Regions from separate parts of the Homo sapiens genome. Here region 1 is linked to region 2. The links are contacts of gene promoters, found by promoter capture Hi-C in blood cells and fetal thymus (Javierre and others, 2016). All regions are on one chromosome and are shown on one strand. Each heading gives the region's core, a stretch centred on a gene start or on the middle of the fragment in contact. The rest is flanking DNA. Distances are from core to core; before and after follow the strand shown. Region 1 overlaps EMC2 (ER membrane protein complex subunit 2). Region 2 holds the start of C8orf88 (chromosome 8 open reading frame 88).

Region 1 (4,658 bases), core at 1,644-4,143, about 17 Mb before region 2:
ATTTGAAACCAAAACAAAAAGCCCCAGAAGATAAACTGGAAAGGAGTAAACAGTTCAAAGAAAAGAAACTGGTTGTATTAGTCCGTTTTCCCACTGCTGATAAAGACGTACCCGAGACTGGGCAATTTACAAAAGAAAGAGGTTTAACTGGACTTGCAGTTCCACGTGGCTGGGGAGGCCTCACAATGATGGCAGAAGACAAGAAGGAAAAAGTCATATCCTACGTGGATGGCAGCAGGCAAAGAAAGAGAGCTTGTGTAGAGAAACTCCTGTTTCTAAAACCATGAGATCTTGTGAGACCCATTCACTATAATGAGAACAGCATGGGAAAGACCTGTCCCCATGATTCAATCATCTCACAGTGGGTCTCCTCCTCAACACATGGGAATTATGGGTGCTACAAGATGAGATTTGGGTGGGGACACAGAGCCAAACCATATCACCAGTCATAGAGGACGTATAGTATACTGGAAAGAACATGGACTTGATACACTTGGTTTGAATCTAAACTCCATCTTTTACATGACCTTACATAACTTACCGAATCTGTACTTAGTTTCCAATACCAATGAATAGAGATAATATTACCTTTAGCTCAGGGATGAGCAGTTAAGATTACATAAAATATATATAAAGTTGCTTGGTTCGTACAATAGTTTGGATATTTTTGTTTTTAAGTTGATTTTGATTACCCTTAGATAAGGGTATACACTTACCAGTTCTTCACAGGCACCACTATTGTCTTTCACCCAACTACATGTATTTTCATCTGCTTGGCCCTTGAGTTTAGGACACCAAACACTAGAAAATTCGTGTAAAGCATTTTATAAAATGTGAAGCCCTACAAAAATTCTAGTTACTTTTATTTTTTAAAAAAATCTGGTAACTGTTTCAGCCTCTCACAAGAAATAAAGGCTCTTCCCTCACTCTTTCCTCAAAGGTGGCTTAAAACTTTCATTTTACCCTTTCACCTTCCTGCAAAAAGCTCGCTCCTCAAAGCCAAGGTCATTTTATTACATACTATGTAAGTAAGCTTCTCACTGCTTGCTTGTACATTTTATTAACTACTGTGCAATCCTGTGAGATGAGCTAAAGGTCAAAGGTTAAGAGAGTCGCTATGATTGTTCTGTTTATTCCTTCCATGACAACTTGCATGAGATGTCACTGCAGTGAGGTGGCCTCTGAAAGATGGAAAAATATGCCTGCTACTTAATTATGATTTCTTTAGTCCAAAACTACTTCCTCCAATCCTGTATCTTTTCCACTTCATTTTTTTATATATTCGGAAATACCACTTACAGATTCATTTACATAAACCAGCATATTCTTTTAAAAGGTTGATAATTACAGGATAATAAATTTTAAATTATTCATGGTCCCATAAAAGTATCTAGTCAGATTGGCTGCAGGCTGTTGGGAACAGCTATTCTAAAAGAAAAGGCAACCTGATTTGAAAAAGGAAAGGGTTAATTTATTTTAATGCACACAGAGCTCCAGAAGACGTATTTTTCAAACTGTGTATTACAATCCATTAATAGGGTATAAAATCGGTTCAGTGGATTTCTTCCAGCATCTGTTGGGGGTGGGGGGGCAGTGGGGGAGAATGAAACAAAATGAACAGAATGGAAGCAATACTCATTAGAATCCTTTGTAAATGCAACTTTGGTTTCAGTTTATACATACACTCAAAGATTCATGTATAGGTATACTTAATTGAGTATGAGTTAATTTGTAAAAGGTGTTTCTTATTGTGAAAAAACACTCATAGGAAAGAGAACTTTTTTTAAAGCATAACTTCTAAGAACGGCAGTCTGACACACAGTCACATATTAAAATATAATAGCTGAACACAAAACAAGAAACACTGTGTATGAAAATATAACTTACAAAACAAGCAACATTTTACCTATAAACACCTTAAGCTATACACCTTACATAGCTGACCCTGCCACACTCTTGAGTGCTGCTGTAATAAATACATTTGTAGCACTATTAACCACATACTACTTTTAGAAATGCCTTAAATACATTTATCTAAAAAAATTATTTGTAAAAATAAAACCATCTTGAAGAAAACATGTTTTCACCTTTGATAGCTCATTACCTCAAAATCACAGCATCCGAAAATCAAGTCATCTTCATTTCCTAAAAATATGGCCTCCCTTCCCAATGTTCACATTTCTGTTAATTCCACCTTCTGTTAATACTACCTGACATTCCATTTTTTAGTGCTGTTTCTGACTCCCACTGTGGGAGTTTTGTATATCTAAGTCCTGTGGATTGTTTTGAAGTATTTCGAAGTATTTCGAAGATTTACATCTTCTACTCTATTTCCACTGCTATTATCCATGCCCAGGCTTTCATCACCCCATGCTAAAATTGCTAGGATAGCTTCCAAACTGATCTCTCAACCCAAATTCAATCTGTAAATTACTACCAGATATTTCTAAAGATTTACTTCATTACAATGTAAATTCTTAAGATACCCAATGATTCCTACCTTCTTTGAGGCAGTATAGTGTATGACTGGAACTATACTTCATTATTCCACTAATATTTACTTCTTGGAGTAAATATTGGAGTTCTTCATCACTCAACTAATATTTCCTAAATGCCTATGTGCCAGGCCTGATCTGGGCACTGAGGATAAAGAAAGAAAGAAAAAGATAAAGTTCCTATATACTCATAATGCTTAGAGTATAATAGGGTAAAAAGATGAAAATCCACATAACTTCAGATAGTGAAATTATACAAATAAAACTAAAAGACCATATGATAAAGTCAGGAGATTGGGAGAAAGGAGGAGCTTTTGGAAAGGGTGGTCAGAGAAGGCTTCTCTAAAAAGGTCATTTTCAAGCTAAGAGAAGAATGATACTAAAACCTGTATCTAAGATACTAAAGAAATTATTTCAACGCTAGAAAAATGGCTTATAATCTTTTCTGACAATGTGTTAGTGTTTATTATTAATCTCATTAACAATTCATTTAGTCATCAAATAATTACTGAGCTCCGCCCCCATGTGTCAGGCTCTAGGGAAGTGACAGTGAAGAAACAGGCCTGGTCCCTTTCATCTTAGGAGAGACAAAATTTTAAAACAAAACACAATTGGGTAAGTGCTTCAATAGTATTAGAATAGAATACATAATCGAAGGATTGCAGGTGTGTTTTGTTGCTTCATTTTATTGTTTGGGTTTTTTTTTTCAATTTTGGTGGGGGATGAGGAAAGGGAAGGGGGTAGTAGAGTGGTCAAGTAAGGCTTTTTTGTAGTAGGTGAGCTTTGTGGGGAATTGATAAATGATAAAGTTTAATGGGGGCAAGAGTGAGGCAAGGAGGGAAGAACACTCCCAGTGGAAGGACTAGCATGTGCCAGCTTTAAGAAGCAGCATGGCAATTTAGGGTATTCAACAAAGGCCAGCATAGGCAGCTCACAAAGTGAGAGGGAGAAGGGCTCAAGATAAAGCTGGAGACATGGGCAACCGCCAGATCATACAGAGGAAGGACATAATCATATTAGCACTAGCTAATAGTAACACATCCTTTTATATAGTACTTAACAGTTTACAAAGCACTTTAAAATGTTTTCTTTGTTCCTACAAATTTGTGTAGTAGTTATTATTTATTATTCCAAATTAATTACATCAATCCTCTTTAGAATGACCACAGGGTAAGGTCCAATTACTCAGTTAAATCACCTTGTCTGTTGGTAGTATACAGCTACTCGTCCCTCAGGATTTTATATATGCTACTATCATCTAGGAAACCTATAATGAACATACCTTCATAATAGCATTTTCTAAAAATTATGTAATATTTAAAACATTTTTTAAAAAGCATTAAAAATAACATCCATTTATCTACGACTCAGCTTACGGAAGATACCCTGACACAAGCCTTTTAAAACTGTGTGTTTACAGGTTTGTTTTCTCCATTAGATTGTGACTTCCTTGGAAGTGGGGACTGTGTGTTGACAGAGCCAAGATTTTGCAGTAAGAAATCAACACTGTTGTTTAATATAATGGAATCCCTCAATTCAGGTATAAATACTGAGATTCACAACGTGCTAGAGGCCATAAAGTCAATAAATCATTTAATTCAGTTCAAGTACAAAGAAATTTTGCTTTATTTGTAACGGATTTACAACTTTATAATAACTGATATATTTATTCACGATAAAACAGAAAATACAACTTTCGGTCCACATGTTTTCAGGTCATTATTAAAACATCCCAAGAAGGCATTCGTTAAGCAAATTAGCTACTGAAGTCTCCTGTATTATGTTAAATGCTGGGAATATGAATTCCAATTACACAAATTCCACGCCTTAATGAAACTCAAGTTTCTTAAGCACACAGAATTGATCCAAGGTTTGGCTGTTCCCAGATTTAAAGAACATATCCCACTCTAGATCAACTAAGGATAGGGAAAAGTGACCATCACACGTAAGCACTTACGTAGCCCAGAGTTAATTAGTTATTTTTCCCTTCAGAAAAGAAACTACTAGTAGGGAGTAAGAAAGAAGTTGTGTTGTGTGTGTAAATGTGTTTTGAGAAGGAGTGGGACAGAGACTAGACTAAAAGGAAAAGAAACTGGAAACCCGGGTTTAAGAAGAAAACTAAATGTAGAGTGGCATATGAGAATCACATTTGTTCACGCATCT
Region 2 (3,992 bases), core at 654-3,153:
GAATAAGAAAATCAGTGACAACAAATTACAGATTTTTAAAAAGATGATAAATACCACAAATATTTTAGAAATTCAGTAAAATGATATTTTAAATTAACTACCTGAACCATTGCTATGTTTTTCCTATATTTTTAGTTTTCATTTTTTTATTGCCTCATCATTTGACAGTAATTTTGTAATGCACTTTCCCTGGTGATAATGAATAATGTGGTAGTCTTTTCAAAGCAAAGTTAGTCAACATGTATTTTTTGTTATTGAAAGCTTAAAAAAGTTATTGCAGTTTCACAATTTGTTATTGGTAATAATGCCAATTTTTAGTATTGCTAAATTTGGGGAAACTCATCTTAAGGTTCTTAGGTGAACTCTGTGATTTCAGGGCACTTCAAGTTTTCTCAGGCAGTGACTAACCTTTAAGTTGCTAAAAGTCATTAACCTGTTTGTTGTCAAGTTCTTGTTGTAAAGGTATGAATTCTAGATTATCCTTGTAGATGCCAAAATTTTATGTCATTATCAATAAGATTTTGAAAAGTTTCGATATGTTTATATGGTTCATTTTTCTTCCTCAATTATCAAAAAATCAAGGAGTCTGTCTAGTCTAATTTCTCTCTTCCTCTCAATAAATTACTAATACTGATCTGAATTGGAATTCTTCCAATTTACATTTTTGTCACAATAGTTTCTACTGACTTCATACAGTGATATGCACAAAATAATTTTATTGTAAGATGTATATAAAATTATACATGCTTCATTGTTAAGTATATTCCTGAAGAAGAAAACTTCTGTTGTGACTAGATGGATGAGAACCACATCCTGCACTTAAGATTTTCTACATCTGGTGGTTGGAATATATTGATTCCACTGTGCAGACTTCTGGTGCCTCACCCCAAGGGATGCCCTTTTATCATGACCCATCTCTGACCCTGGACCCTAGGTCTCTGATGCCAGGCGAGTTGTCTCAGTGGATAGTAGGAGTGTTTCTGGAAGCCATTTCTAAACGGAGACAGCTCCAATAACTTGACTATACATGGAAGTGCTTGTGAAACTTCATACCTTCCAAAATGGTAAATCCTGATAGTGCCCCACTTAAAACCGTTCAGTGTTTGCCAGTGCATTTTCAACTGTCCTTTTGGTGCTTGGGGACGTGAGGGACTGCCACCTCCACGTCCCTCAGTACAAGCAGACAGTCCCCCTCTGGGGACACTCAAAGATAATGAAAAATTAGCAAAAGGATTGAAGGTGAAGATTAAAAAGAAATGATTCGGATGGAGTTGCCTTAATTCATTTTGTTCCTTTCAGGATGGCAGTCTGTGTGAAACGCTGTATCCCTGGTCTGAGGTAAACCAGGTCTCAAACATCTTCCTCCCTGCCAACCCGAATCCCGACACCCACTAAATGCACCAAGGGGAAAGCAGCGCCTGCCAGCAGCTCTGACGGGGGACAGGAGTAGGGTGGACTCAGTCGTCAGCACGACGGCGGCCTCCCTCACAGAGGCGGCCTCCCTCACAGACGCTGCCTGGAACCCGCCGCCAAGCCCCCAGCAGGCGGCCCGCCTGGCGCCTCCCAGTCTTCGCACAAGCAGGGCCACGGTCTGGGGCCCCCAAGGCCGTTCACGCGGGCGCGCCCCGTCGAGGGCTAGCCTGTCAGCGCCTCACTCGCGGCCTCCTACCCTAGACGACCGGCTCTGGGTGGCGCCGCTCCAACCCCACGCGCCCAGCTCGCCCGGGAAAGCGCGCGCCACCCTTTTAACGGTTCTACCCCGGCAGGGGTGCGGCTGCTCTCGAGGCTCAGCGCCCGAGGCCACGCCCCGCGCCCGCCCTGGGCCCGCCTCGTGCCCCTCGGAGCCGCCTCCCGCCCCGCCCCCCGCCCCTCGCCCCCCGCCCCTCGCCCCCCGCCGCCGCCACCGCGGTCAGCCAGCGGACCAGCGGCAGGAGCCGTTCCCCGACGGGCAGCAGGGCGCTCGGCCTCCGCGTGTGGGCTGAGCGCGGCGACGCTGCTGCCCCGAAATCCCCGTGGATTTTGAGTCGGTAAGTGGCTAGGGAGGATGAGCGACACTGGGGGACGGAAGTCGGGCCCCGTGGTGTGGAGGAGGCGGGTGGGCGCCGTCTCCCAGGCCCGACCCCGGGAAAGTTGAGGCGAGGAAGAGAAGCTCTGAGGTGGGTCGGGAAATCTCTCAGGGCCCCTTCAGTACCCTGTGGACCCTGAATGGGAGTGGGATGGGAGCGAGAGCGTCGGATGAGGGGAAAGAAAGTGTAGGGGGCCAGGGGAGCCCGACGGAGGGGCAAGTGGCCGAGACCAAAGCCATCGCCAAAAAAGGAGCTAAGTACACAGCTCCCCTTGGCTCTGCCCCAGCACCTGGTGCCAGGCGGTGGGAGGCTTTCAAGACGATTTGCCCCCTCCACCCGGTGGCACAAGGTTTTCATTGCTGGTGTTTTAGTCAAAGCTACGGAAAGGACAGTTACATGACTAAAGTAATCACAGACACCTATTACCTGGACAGCTTTAGCCCATCCGAATGTTAAATTGTGTTTTGTTTTGAGAAATCCCTCAAATAGACCAAAAAAAAAATTAAATTAGTTATAAAGAGAAGGCATGAAATGGAAGATATGTTGGAACTCTCCAAGCTTCTAGTTTTTTGATATTTTCGTTTTAATTTTTCCTTAATAGTGCAACCAGATATATGGAACGTGAAATGTCTTTCACCACTTGAGTCATAGGTGGTTTATTTCTTACTCCCCGATGTTTCCTGTATGTTTCTCTTCATCTATCATTTTGTCAGTGTGAGCAGTTTACTTACAAGCAGTATTGGGTTTCAAGGAATCCTAACTTTGTAATGTTTTGAAGTTGGAAATTGAGATGAAATTTTATCTGGTTATCATATGGGAATTATACACAAGGTAAATTCAAATATGGTCTTTTCATTTCATTATTTCACTTTATATGATCTTATTTCTCAACGGCAGCGGTAGCATCAGTACTTTCCAAAGAAGACTAGAATTTATATTGGAGTTTAAGTATAGTACTCAGCTTCTAAAAACAGTGCATAGTATATTTCATATGCTGTGATCTATGGTTAGTATGGCAGTATACCATGTCTGTAGCGTGAGGAAAGCACAGTACTCCCTAATTTATTTAGTATTCTAAGAAAAATGGTAAATTGAAGAAATGGATATTATTAGCATATACCAATTTATTCTGCATGGCCTTATAAATAAATGTTACTTTTCACATTAATTTTTAAATCTATACACGCAGTGTCCACATGTAATAAATGGACAGTCAGATATCTTTCTTTTATGTAACAAATAGGCAAGTTTTGATATAAAGGTGTGAACTTTGTAGTCAAATCCTAATATCTAGCACTTAGTAGCTATGTGGACTTGGGCATGTCTCTTATTTTTCTGAGCCTCAGGTTTCTTATCTGTGAAGTGGGACTAATAATAATTTTCTTCCACCGTTCATATATGGCTCAAAATTAAATGAAATTATATTTAGTATGTAGTAGGACCTTAAAAAGGCATCTTAATTAAAAAATAAGATTAATAAGATTTTGGCCAAAGTGGTCAATGTATCTGCTTATTATCCCATTGTATTTTAGACAATTCTAGGTTTACTGGTAATATCAGGACTGATAAGGCCTGAAGATTCATACTTAGGTAAATTTTTTAAAAAGAAAAGGAACCTAAGATATAGTTAGTATTGCCAGGTGTAGAATAGCAACTGTAAATAACTAACTGATTTACCAATATTCTATTCATACAACTTGGTCTTTAAAGATGATTTGTTAAGTGTGTGTGATCTTGAAAAAAACTATTCAGCAACCATTTCTCAGTATGTATTAATAGAAAGTTTTTTTGGAGACATTGGATCAAAATATCCTTTAAAAAACATTTATACCACAAAACTATACATTTACATTTTTAAATTTACATTTTACAACCTTATGATAGGCCCACTACTTGCTACCCAATGTTGTAGGCAGAATTCTGTTT

Evidence for each region. Contacts are between HindIII fragments. The CHiCAGO score rates a contact against its expected background, and 5 or more counts as called.
Region 1: a fragment that was not itself captured here is called in contact with the fragment with the promoter of C8orf88 in region 2 in 1 of 17 cell types (fetal thymus); the score reaches 5.6 in fetal thymus.

The regions. Positions count from the first base shown.
Region 1 is chr8:108,444,144-108,448,801 of GRCh38, reverse strand. The region is part of intron 1 of EMC2 (ER membrane protein complex subunit 2); the gene reads right to left. Among named protein-coding and RNA genes, the nearest start is that of EMC2, 2.8 kb to the right of the region's middle. The HindIII fragment of the contact is 3,715 bases long and covers 1,036-4,658 here.
Region 2 is chr8:90,983,149-90,987,140 of GRCh38, reverse strand. It overlaps C8orf88 (chromosome 8 open reading frame 88), which reads left to right and starts at 1,903. Exons shown (of 6, transcript NM_001190972.2): 1 at 1,903-2,027. RefSeq lists a silencer at 1,720-1,879. The HindIII fragment of the contact is 2,363 bases long and covers 264-2,626 here.